Regions from separate parts of the Homo sapiens genome. Here region 1 is linked to region 2. The links are contacts of gene promoters, found by promoter capture Hi-C in human tissues and cell types (Jung and others, 2019). All regions are on one chromosome and are shown on one strand. Each heading gives the region's core, a stretch centred on a gene start or on the middle of the fragment in contact. The rest is flanking DNA. Distances are from core to core; before and after follow the strand shown. Region 1 holds the start of SPDYC (speedy/RINGO cell cycle regulator family member C). Region 2 holds the start of MAP3K11 (mitogen-activated protein kinase kinase kinase 11).

Region 1 (5,157 bases), core at 1,239-3,738, 440 kb before region 2:
TCACCCAGGCTGGGTAGAATGGCATGATAATAGCTCACTGCAGCCTTGAACTCCTGGGCTCAAGTGATCCTCCCACCTCAGCCTCTTGAGTAGATAGGACTGCAGTCACGTGCCACCATGCCAGGCTAGTTTATTTTTGGTAGAGATGGGGCCTTGATGTATTGCCCAGGTTAGTCTCTAACTCCTGAACTCAAATGATCCTCCTGTCTCGGCCTCCAAAAAGTGCTGAGATTATAGGCGTGAGCCAATGGACCTGGCCATATATATATTTTTTGAGCTGGTAGTATGTTATTATGTTTTATGTGTATTCTTTTATATCCTTTTACGTGTATCCTTTATAGCATGCAATATTAATATATGATTTTACAAATTATATATACATTTACATGAATATAAATTTTATAAATAGTATATTAGTTAGCATAGAATAAATTTTGCTGTGATAATTGTAGCAGGCAGAATAATGGACTCCCAAAGATGGCTACATTTCACTTCCCAGACCTGAGAATATGTTATCTCACATGGCAAAAAAGACTTTGCAGATGGTTAAGGATCTTTTTTTGAGACCAAGTCTTGCTCTGTTGCCCAGACTGGAGTGCAATGGCATGATCTCAGCTCACTGCAACCTCCACCCCCAGGGCTCAAGCAATTCTCCTGCCTCAGCCTCCCGAGTAGTTAGGATTACAGGCATGCACCACCATGCCCCGCTAATTTTTGTATTTTTAGTAGAGGAGGGGTTTTGCCATGTTTACCAGGCTGGTCTTGAACTCCTGACCTCAGGTGATCTGCTCTCCTCTGCCTCCCACAATGCTGGGATTACAGGGGTAAGCCACCTCTCCCAGCCAAGTTAAGGATCTTGAGATGGGGAGATTATCTGGGCAGATTGAAGAGCCCAGTGAATCATGGGATTCTGAAAAGTGAAAGAGAAAGGCTGGGCATGGTGGCTCATGCCTGTAATCCCAGCATTCTGGGAGGCCAAGGCGGGTGGATCATGAGGTCAGGAGAACAAAACAAAACAAAAAAATTGCCAGGCATGGCGGCACATGCCTGTAGTCCCAGCTACTCGGGAGGCTGAGGCAGGAGAATTGCTTGAGCCCTGGAGGTGGAAGTTGCAGGGAGCCGGGATTGGGCCACTGCACTCCGGCCTGGGCAACACAGCGAGACTCCGTCTCAAAAAAAAAAAAAAAAAAAGTAAAAACAAATATTCTCCCCAGTGTGGGAGATCGGTGTCAGATCTCCAGGGGTGGCACTGAAGGAAATCAGCCTGAAGGCCCTCCCAAAGTTAAAGTGACTAGCCCACTCCCAGGCTTCTTTTTGGTACACCTTCCTGATCTCTAACCTTAATTACTGGGGGAGGAGGAGAACAGTTGAAAACACAGCTGGTCTAGGAGATTCATTCGGTTTCATGGAACACCTTCTCTGTGCAGGCAGCGTCCAGGAACAGCTGTAGACCACACAGCCAGGCTACCCAGCGTGTGGGCCCAGCAGCCAGGCTGGAACTCTATCTCTACTTACCAGCTGAGTGGCTGGCAGGAAGTTACTCAGCCTGTCGGTCAGCAACCCAAACTCTGTGTGTTAGTTGTTTGTTCGCTGACAAAATGAGGCTTCTCATCATTCTCATCAACTTCACGGGCTTGCTGTGAGGAACACGTGAGCTGATTCCATCACAGACTCCTCAGTAGGCAGCAGTAGGTGTTTAGTGAACGGGCTATGGATGCTGCCCCACTCACTACTTCCTTTCTAGGGGAGGCCGACTTCAAATGCGTGCACACACACAAACAGGATGGCCTGATGCAGACCAGCTGGTCTAGAAAGGCCTTCACGGCCTCAGGGAGCCTGGGAGGCGGCCTGGGGGAGACCATGAAACAGCAGATACACCAGAGACCAGAGATCAGAGAGAAAACAAAGGACCCAGAGATCCACAGACATCCAGACACCAGAGGCAACAAGAAACTGAGAGACTCAGAGGCCCACTGAGACCCAGGCAGCTTGTTCTGTGTTACGAGGGGAAAAATAAAATAAGAAACAAAAGAGAGACTCGGGGGGCCTCAGTGAAACCTAGAGACTCAAGGAGGCCAGGAGATTCAGAGACACCCATAGAGAGCCAGAGACCCTGCCCTAGCAAGGCACAATCAATGAAAAAAAACTCGCCCACCAGGCCCTCGCAGTCCGGGTCTCATATCCCGGCTCAGCACCTTGGCGCTGCATTTGTCAAGAGGGGAACAGGGATCCTAGCTCCCTGCCTGTCCTATGGGGCCTTAGGCCCTGGGGTCCAGCTGGCCTGCCTTCACCCCTCTTGTAGTTGATGAAGCTTTGGAGAGGCTTTCAAACCCTGGGGAGCCACAGCTGGGTGCCGACTGGACTCACTGGCAGAGAGGCAGGCGGTGAAGGCCAAGCCTCGCCCCCCAGGAAGGCCCTGATTGGTGGACGGGCTGCTTTGGGCAGGGCCGCCCTCAGGCTATATAAGCGCACTCGCGGCGGCGTTGGTGTTATGCTCTGGGCCATTCCTGAGCTCGGGTAAGGCTCGCTGCAGGAGGAGGCTGGGTTGCTTGCGGGCGCCTAGATGGAGGGGCCCAGATTGGCCCTGGGGTGGTCGACCGCACGTTCTCCTCGGCCCCGTGGTTGGCTTCTCTCTCTCAGGGATGAGGGTGGGTTTAGGACGGGAGCTTGAAATGTTTGAAGTGGCCCCATCAACTTGCTCTAAATCCAGGTATTTTTCTAATTTCATTCCTCCCTGAGGGCCTCAGTTTCCCCTCGGTGTAAGGGATCAGTGGCCCTTTCAACTCTGCTTTGGTGAGGGGTCGGGGGTGGTTGTGAGTTGGGGCCTAGAGGAGCAGTTAAACTCTTGGGTTTTTTTTTTCTTTTTTTTTGGCCAGGCGCAGTGGCTCACGCCTGCAATCCCAGCACTTTGGGAGGTCAGGAGTGTGAGACCAGCCTGGCCAACACGGTGAAACCCTGTCTCTACCAAAAAAATACAAAAAAAATTAGCCGGGCGTGGTGGCATGGCGCATGCCTGTAATCCCAGCTACTCGGGAGGCTCAGGCTGGAGAATCAGTTGAACCCGGGAGGCGGAGGTTGCAGTGAGCCGAGATCGCGCCACTGCACTCCAGTCTGGGCGACAGAGAGAGACTGTGTCTCAAAACAAACAAACAAAAACCAAAAAACCTCTTGGGGTTTTGGAGACCAAGGGCTTCACTTTTAACCGGCTGTTAGGCCTCAGCTTCAGTTTCCTCGTTTGACGACCGGTCTGAGTTAAACTTACCTCCTTACCAGGATGGAATAAGATAAGGCCCTTAAGCACAGCCCCAGGCACTTAGGAAGCCCTCAGCGGTGCTTGTTGCTGCTGTTACTCTGGCCTGTCCTGGGGTGCCAGGAGGAGGGTGAGGGTGCCACACCCTCACCTATAGCAACTCTTTGCTTCTTTTCTGGCCTCCCCACTCTTGTTGCATCCCGGCTGCCTTCTGTTCTGAGCCCCCAAGTCTCTGCACCCACCCCTCCACCGTCCTGGCCCCTGTCACCACCCTCTTGATTTGTGAGCATCACGGGGGTACATGCTAAGTCCTGAGCCTCCTTTCTCTACAGGTCACCCTGCCCCATCTCCATCTCCTATGAGATGAGTGACTCCCAAGACCCCACCACTTCCCCTGTAGTTACCACCCAGGTAGAGCTGGGGGGCTGCAGCCGGCAAGGTGGGGGCAATGGGTTCCTCCGTTTTCGCCAGCACCAGGAGGTCCAGGCCTTCCTCAGCCTTCTGGGTGAGTTTGGAGGGCTGGCACGGGAGGGGCCGTGAGGTCAAGTGTGAAAGCAGATGTGAAGTGTGGGGTCTCACCTGCCTGTACAGACATCTGAGACCTCTGACCCTCTCCCTCTCAGGTATCCCAGCTTAGGCAGGTGGGAGGGGTGTCCTCTCAGAAACTGGATTCAGGGCCAGGCACCGTGAGTCATACCTATAATCCCAACATTTTGGGAGGCTGAAATGGGAGTATCACTTCAGGCCAGGAGTTCAAGACCAGCCTGGTCAACATAGTGAGACTCCATTTCTATTTATATTAAGAAAGAGAGAGAGAAAGAGAAAAAGGGAGAAAAAGAGAAAGAGAGAGAGGGTTCAGTGGTGGCTTGGGCTTTGGAGCTTCTGATGCCACTCTTCTCCATGGAGGTGGTGGTAACCTGCGTCCTGTCATGTCTTCTCTACCCTCAGAGGACAGTTTTGTCCAGGAATTCCTCTCCAAAGACCCCTGCTTCCAGATTTCAGATAAGGTGAGGGAGTACAGGCTGGGGGTCTCTTGAGGGTCAGGTTGAGTTGGTGGGAATTGAGTGCCCTGGTCTGGTAGGGAGAGCCACTCACCTTCCATCCTTACCCCCTCATCTTTGCACACCACTTCCCACCATTTTACTGACTTTCTTTCCCTGCAGCAAAACCTCCCTGGGTGCAAATGAACCTGGGTGCAAGCCCCTCCTCCTCAGAGAATAACTAACCCCCCACCCCGATCTGTCTCTGCAGTATCTCCTGGCCATGGTGCTGGTCTACTTCCAGCGCGCCCACCTGAAGCTCAGCGAGTATACCCACAGCAGCCTGTTCTTGGCCCTGTGAGTGGTGGGGGCAGGCAGTGGAGGCATTTGCTGGAGGTGTCAGATGGGACAGGGCAGATGTGTGGCCTCTGCTCCCTGACCTTGTGCCTCTGTGGCTAGGTACCTTGCAAACGACATGGAGGAGGACCTGGAGGGCCCCAAATGTGAGATTTTTCCATGGGCCCTGGGAAAAGATTGGTGTTTACGAGTGGGGAAATTCCTGCACCAGAGGGATAAGCTTTGGGCACGGATGGGTTTCCGGGCTGTTGTGAGCCGCCAGTGCTGTGAGGAGGTGAGGCTGGGAGGCAACCTGGGGTGTGGGGAAGGCTGGGGTTCCCACCCCATTTACTGTCCACTCTGCTCCTCCCAGGTCATGGCAAAGGAGCCATTCCACTGGGCTTGGACTCGGGACCGGCGCCCCCACCATGGTGGGGTTCAGAGGGTCTGTCCACAGGTCCCTGTTCGCCTTCCCCGGGGCCCTGGCCTCTCGCCGCCCCACTGTTCCCCCTGTGGTTTGCCCCAGCACTGCAGCAGCCACTTGCTTAAGCCTGTGTCATCCAAGTGCCCTTCTCTGACCTCTGAATGTCA
Region 2 (5,609 bases), core at 1,801-4,300:
TACTTCTCCTTTCTGGGAGGCCTGGGCCAGGTCTCCCACTTGGGAGGGGGAGTCCTTTTGGGGAGAACTGGGGGAGGTCAGGCCCAGGCCGGGCTGGCTGGTCAGTCCTGTGACTCGTGGGCCTGGAGAATTCCCCCTCCTCTCCCCGCCAGGCTTCCTCACAAGGCCCCCATTGTCCAGGAAAATCATGCCATTGTTTCCTGCCTGTGCCCCCCACCAGCCCAGGGACTCCCCCCACCCCAATCCTGCAGACAGCAACTTGGGCCTAGGACTGGGGTCTCCGAGGTTAAATGCCAGGCTCAGGGAGGCTGAGGGCACCTTGCCTGCCCTTTACCACCACCTCCCAGACTCTGAGAGGGAAGCAGGGGAACTAGAGGGGAGTAGGGGAGCAGTTCCAGGCTCCTTCCTCCCGCAAGTCCTCCACCCCAAGCTCTTTCCTCCCCTGCAGGCAGCTGGGCTAGGGAGGGAGCAGGGGCTGGAGCAGGGACAGGAAGCCGGCTCAGGGGCAGCAGGAAACGCAGGAAGCAGTGGGGAGGGTGGGGAGCAGGGGCCTGGGCTATTGTTCCATTTTTTCTGGAAAGAAAACGGAGGAAAAACAGAAGATGGGAGTCCCCTCCCCCTGTGCCTTCGGGGAATCCCCCTCAGATTGGGGCAGGTAGCGGGGGTCCCTAGATAGTTAGAGCCCAGGGTTGAGGCTGAGAGGTGGGAACCGCACCCTACCAGGGATGAGAAGAGTGGGTAGGATGGTTGGCAGGCCTCTCCTGGCTCCCCCAGTCCTGGCAAGAACTTGGATATCTGGGGCTCAGCACTCTGTTTCCTGCAAGCCCCTTGTCCATGGTCAGCCCAGGCCAGGAGGCTCAAAATATCCACGTTGACCCCCCTCTAAGAATGTCTCATGCTTTTCCAGTGACCACACTGAGCCTGGCCCCTCCTGCATTTCCTACTGCTGCTCTCCAGCCTGCACTCTGGGCTCTAGGAGGCCCCTGCTCCTGGTCCCTGCTGTGTGCTGGGTCCTGCTTCCATGCCTTCTCTCTCTAAATGCTGCGTGCACCAGGAAACCCTCTGAAGCTGTCACTCACTTCTCTTGGGCCATGATGGGCAGCGTGTCGGGGGCTTGAAATGATGGGAGATGGAGTCTCCCTTAGCCCAGCACTCCCATCCCAAGCACTGATTTCAGGCTAGGCCCTCTTGGCGATCCAGCCCTCAAATGTCCATCTCCATGGCTGAGGACCCGCTGTGGGTTGGGGATCGCAGGTCGGGCTTGCCCAAGCTGTTGAGCTGTTTCACTCTCCCTTTTTACAGATTCTGAAATTGAGGCTCCGAGTTGGAGTAACCAGCTAGAGGTCATGAAGCCAGGGAGGGCTAGGCCAGAATTCCAGCCCTGGCCTTAGCCTTGACTGCCAAGGAGGGCTTCCCTCTCTGAGATATCTGTTCTGGAGGAGCTGCCCATGACGACGGGAGGGGAGGACAGAGCACCAACTCCACGAACATGAATTTAGGGGAGGAGAAGATGAGGAGCACGAGCTTCCAGAGGACTTCCTTGAGGTGGGAGCCATGGCTGGGCAGGATGCTTATGGCCCACCTGAGAGATACCAATTTCTTAACTTGTCCAAACCGCAGCTGCAGGCTGGGGTCAAGGACTTCTGAAGCTGGCGCAGGAAGACTCTGCTGGGTGCCTGGGGCTCTGTTTGGGGGCTAGCTTGAGCCCATGGGCACCCCTGGTCAGCTGGGACCCCCTAGGGTGGGAGCTCCTACCTGCAGTAGACCCTAAGCTAGGCTCAGTGGAAGGTTGGGAGCAGGTGTGTACCAGAGCCATGCCACCCCCAACCATGCCCCCAGAAACTCACTGTTGTTGGACTTGAGATCACGGTGGATGACGGGCACCAGGGCCTCGCAGTGCAGGTAGTGCATCCCACGGGCAATCTGCACAGCCCAGTTGACCAGCACATGGGGAGGCACGCGCCGCCCGGCCAGAGCTCGGCTGAGGGGCCCACCGGCTGCATACTCCATCACCAGGCACAGGTTGGGCTCCTCCAGGCACACAGCCTTGAGGGCAATGATGTTGGGGTGTGCCAGCATGGCGAAGAGCCGGGCCTCCTGGCGAACGCTCTCGGCTGTCACACTGATGTCCTCATCGGGGTCCTGGCGAGCTGCCTTCACAGCCACCAGCTCACCTCGCCAGCTGCCCCTGTACACCTTGCCAAAGCCTCCAATGCCGATCACCTCCTCCAGCCGCAGCTCCTGGAAGCTGGCCACCTCGCAGGGGGGCGGGCCGCCACCCCGAGACACATAGTTGGACGGGAAGATGCCCACCTGGCCACCCACCTGGCCCGCCCACCAGCCCTCGTCTCCTGAGATGGCTGCGTCCCGGGACAGCACCTCCACACGGTCACCCTTCCTCAGGGCCAGCTCATCCTGCCCACTGGGCTCGTAGTCGAACAGGGCTGTCCACACCGGGTTGGCATAACCCGCTGCCTTTGGAGACCCCTCAGGCCGGCCTCCTCCACCGCCCCCACCACCCCCGCTGCCACTGCCATTCCATGACCCTAGAGGGCTCTTGAGGAAGAGGCTCTTCAAGGGCTCCATGGCCGGGAGCCGGCGCTGGGATGTGTGGAGGACCTTCTCTGGGTGCCCGTGGTCCCCACCCCCGCTGGCTGCCAAGGCCCTAGTCCCGGAACCTGGGCATCCGGGCCCTGGCCCTCAGCCCCAGACCCACGCCTCTCTGGGGAGCCAGGAGTGTTGTCTCCCGGCCCCCCGCATCTCGGGCTTCTGGAGGAGGGCACCCAGGGCAGTGTGGTCAGGCCGGGGGGGTGGGGCCCCGGGGCCTCCGGCGCCTCACCATGGCTAGCTTGGAGGGACCCGAGCTTCCCTCGGTTCTGGAGCAGTCCTGGGAGCCTGGCTCCGGCCCCCGCCAAGTGTAAGGTGGGGCCTTCAGGGGCAGCGCCTCAACTCCGGTTGGGTCTTTTTGCGCAGGGGGTGGAGGGAGCGTCCGCAGTTGGGCCGAGACTGCCTGTTCCTGGCCCCGTCTCCTTTGGCCCCGACGGCTCCGACCCCGCTCCCTTCTTCCTCCTCCCTTTGTACTTTGGCCCCGGGGGCGGGAGGCAGAGGTGGAGGGTGGAGTTTCACTTTTTTCCGCTCTTCTCCCTCCTGCAGGAAACAGCATCAGATGACGCGGGCGGCCTGCACCGCTCCCCTCCCAGAGGCTCCAGGCGGGGAGTTCCCGGGTAGGCGGGCCAGGAGAGGCAGAGAGGGAAAGGGCAGAACCAGATCCCCCATCACAGCAGGCTTTTGAGATCTAGAAAGAAAAGCCCCCAGCTGCGTGCTCTGCTGCCTAGGGTGGAGGTTGGTCTCTGCTAAGGATGGGCCATCTCTGCCCTCTGCATCCGCATCGGCGGCAGCAAAACGGGGTTACAGAACCACACTTGGGAAGGGGGTGAACCCGAGTCTGGTCTTGGCTGCGAAGTTGTGGGACTGTGCGATCCATCGATTCTGAGCCTCATTATTTTCTTTCTTTTTTCTTCTTTTGAGACGGAGTCTTGCTCTGTCGCCCAGGCTGGTATGCAATGGCGCAGTCTAAGCTCACTGCAACCTCCGCCTCCCGGGTTCAAGAGATTCTCCTGCCTCAGCCTCCCGAGTAGCTGGGACTACCGGCGCGTGGCACCACGGCCGGCTAATTTTTGTATTTTTAGTGGAGACGGGTTTCACCATGTTGGCCATGCTGGTCTCAAACCCCTGACCTCGTGATCCTCCCGCCTCGGCCTCCCAAAGTGTTGGGATTACAGGCGTGAGCCACCGCGCCCGGCCATTCTTTTCATATATGATATGAGGACGAGAAAGCTCTGCCTCGTAGAGCTAGTTGGATGGGGTGGGGAAGACTGGAGGACAGACGGAACTGGCTGCACCTCAAGCTCTTGGAGTGGATTGCCTAAGGCTCTCTTCTTCTCCTCACCTGGGAAACAATCCGCTTCTTCATATCCCTTCCCCATTGGCAGAAACCTGAGACTTGTCCAGAACTTTGCCCAGGATTGGATTCAGAATAGCTGAGTCGCCCTCACAACTTCTGGATAGGGCTGCCCCAATTGCTTTGAGCCTGTCACTTTAAGAAAGACGACGCTATCCTATTTCGACTATTCCTGCCTGTTACGGAAGGTTGTTCTCTACACCCTAGGTCTGAGCTCTGACCCGGAAGTAGACGCCGCTGGGAGCGAAATCGGTCGTGACGTACGAGGTCCAGCATTAAAGGGGGCGGGCCGAGAGGGGCGTGCTTCGGTAGTGCAGAACTCTCGCTGCTACTAGGGGAGTCCACGCCTCCACCTTTTCCCCGCCTCCTGTAACTCATTGGAAGAGCTGTGCGCCAATTACTTTGCCGTTACCCAATGGCTACTCAACTGTCTCTTTGGTTCCGCCCAGTCGTCTACCCTGGGTTGGCAACGCCTGGGTCTACGCATGCGCCCAAACGCTTTTACGCTCGAACTTGCTTTAGTCCTGGAGTCTGCGCACGCCCAAAGGGCACCCCTCGCGTCCTACCGCGCCATCACCTTTCTGCGCTTGCGCATTCATGCCGTCAAGTTTTCCTTTTCCGGGTCCCAATTGGAATCGTTGGGCGCATGCGCCACTGCAGGCTGGCGGTTCGCGGCTCCTTCTTCCGGCCTCCTCCTTAGGCCGGCACCAGCAGAAGCCGGGCGAGCGCGGAGCCCCAAGCAAGTGACCTGCGACCCCGAAAGTGGACCCCAGATCCTGGGGTTCTCCCTGGTCCGGAGACTAGGGAGCTGTCGCCTGCACCCCGGGAGCACCCACCCCACGACCACCTCTGGATGCCGCCGACGGGTACCCGGCCCGTGCCCCGCGCCTGCCTGCCGGCTCGGCCCCTCGGAGCAATTCTGGGCCAGGAGTGGGGACCCGGACCCCGCCCCTGATGCAGCCCCACCCCCGCGTCCGGGCCTTGCACCACTGACTGTCCCGGCCGGCCCCGCCCCCTGCTCGCACCCTCGCGCGGCCGAGCCCCCCTCCCCCGCTGGGGGAGGCCATGGCGTGAGCGTGAGGCCGGGCCCCGGGGCCCTCAGGCGCCAGACGGGGCATGGGCCGGGGGCCGCCCCCATGAGGGTCCCGGGAGGGGGGGCGCGGGCAGCAGCGGCGGGGCCATGGGGTCGCAGGTGTTGCAGATCCTGCGCCAGGGGGTGTGGGCCTCGCTCACCGGCGGTTGGTTCTTCGACCCGCACCAGAGCACCTTCTCCAACTGCTTCCACCTCTATGTCTGGATCTTCCTGCTCATCTTTCCCTTCTTACTGTACATGGTGAGACGCCACGGCCACCTGTAACTCCAGCCGGGAGAGGGAGGGCAGCCTGGCAGGGATTCAGGGCAGTGCCCTGGGCTCTGGGACGTGGAGAGAGAGGAATCACTGCAGAGTTTGGGTCTGTGTGGAAGAGGGGCCAAAGTCTTCCTTTCTTGGATCGAGTGACCTTGAACCCTACACTTAATCTCATCCAGCTAAGCAGAATACAGAGCCCTTTGTCGAGGTCTGTGTACTGGTTGTGTGGAGAGGTGATGAAATTTTCTTGTGAGTCTGTGAATCCCAGCTATGATGTTGATGGCAGGTACATCCTGTGGG

Evidence for each region. Contacts are between HindIII fragments. The study calls those that stand out against the background at their distance.
Region 1: the fragment with the promoter of SPDYC here is called in contact with the fragment with the promoter of MAP3K11 in region 2 in 1 of the 25 tissues and cell types used here (spleen).

Annotation. Positions count from the first base shown.
Region 1 is chr11:65,167,745-65,172,901 of GRCh38, forward strand. It overlaps SPDYC (speedy/RINGO cell cycle regulator family member C), which reads left to right and starts at 2,489. Exons shown (of 7, transcript NM_001008778.3): 1 at 2,489-2,517; 2 at 3,583-3,755; 3 at 4,199-4,257; 4 at 4,502-4,587; 5 at 4,690-4,861; 6 at 4,940-5,157. The coding sequence starts at 3,614. The HindIII fragment of the contact is 3,474 bases long and covers 86-3,559 here.
Region 2 is chr11:65,611,171-65,616,779 of GRCh38, forward strand. It overlaps MAP3K11 (mitogen-activated protein kinase kinase kinase 11), which reads right to left and starts at 3,051. Exons shown (of 10, transcript NM_002419.4): 1 at 1,848-3,051. The coding sequence starts at 2,586. PCNX3 (pecanex 3) reads left to right here and starts at 4,606. Exons shown (of 35, transcript NM_032223.4): 1 at 4,606-5,294. The coding sequence starts at 5,142. RefSeq lists enhancers at 1,486-2,373, 3,091-3,520, 3,262-4,148, 4,031-4,080, 4,141-4,230 and 2 more and silencers at 2,661-2,840, 4,851-5,100. The HindIII fragment of the contact is 27,885 bases long and covers 1-5,609 here.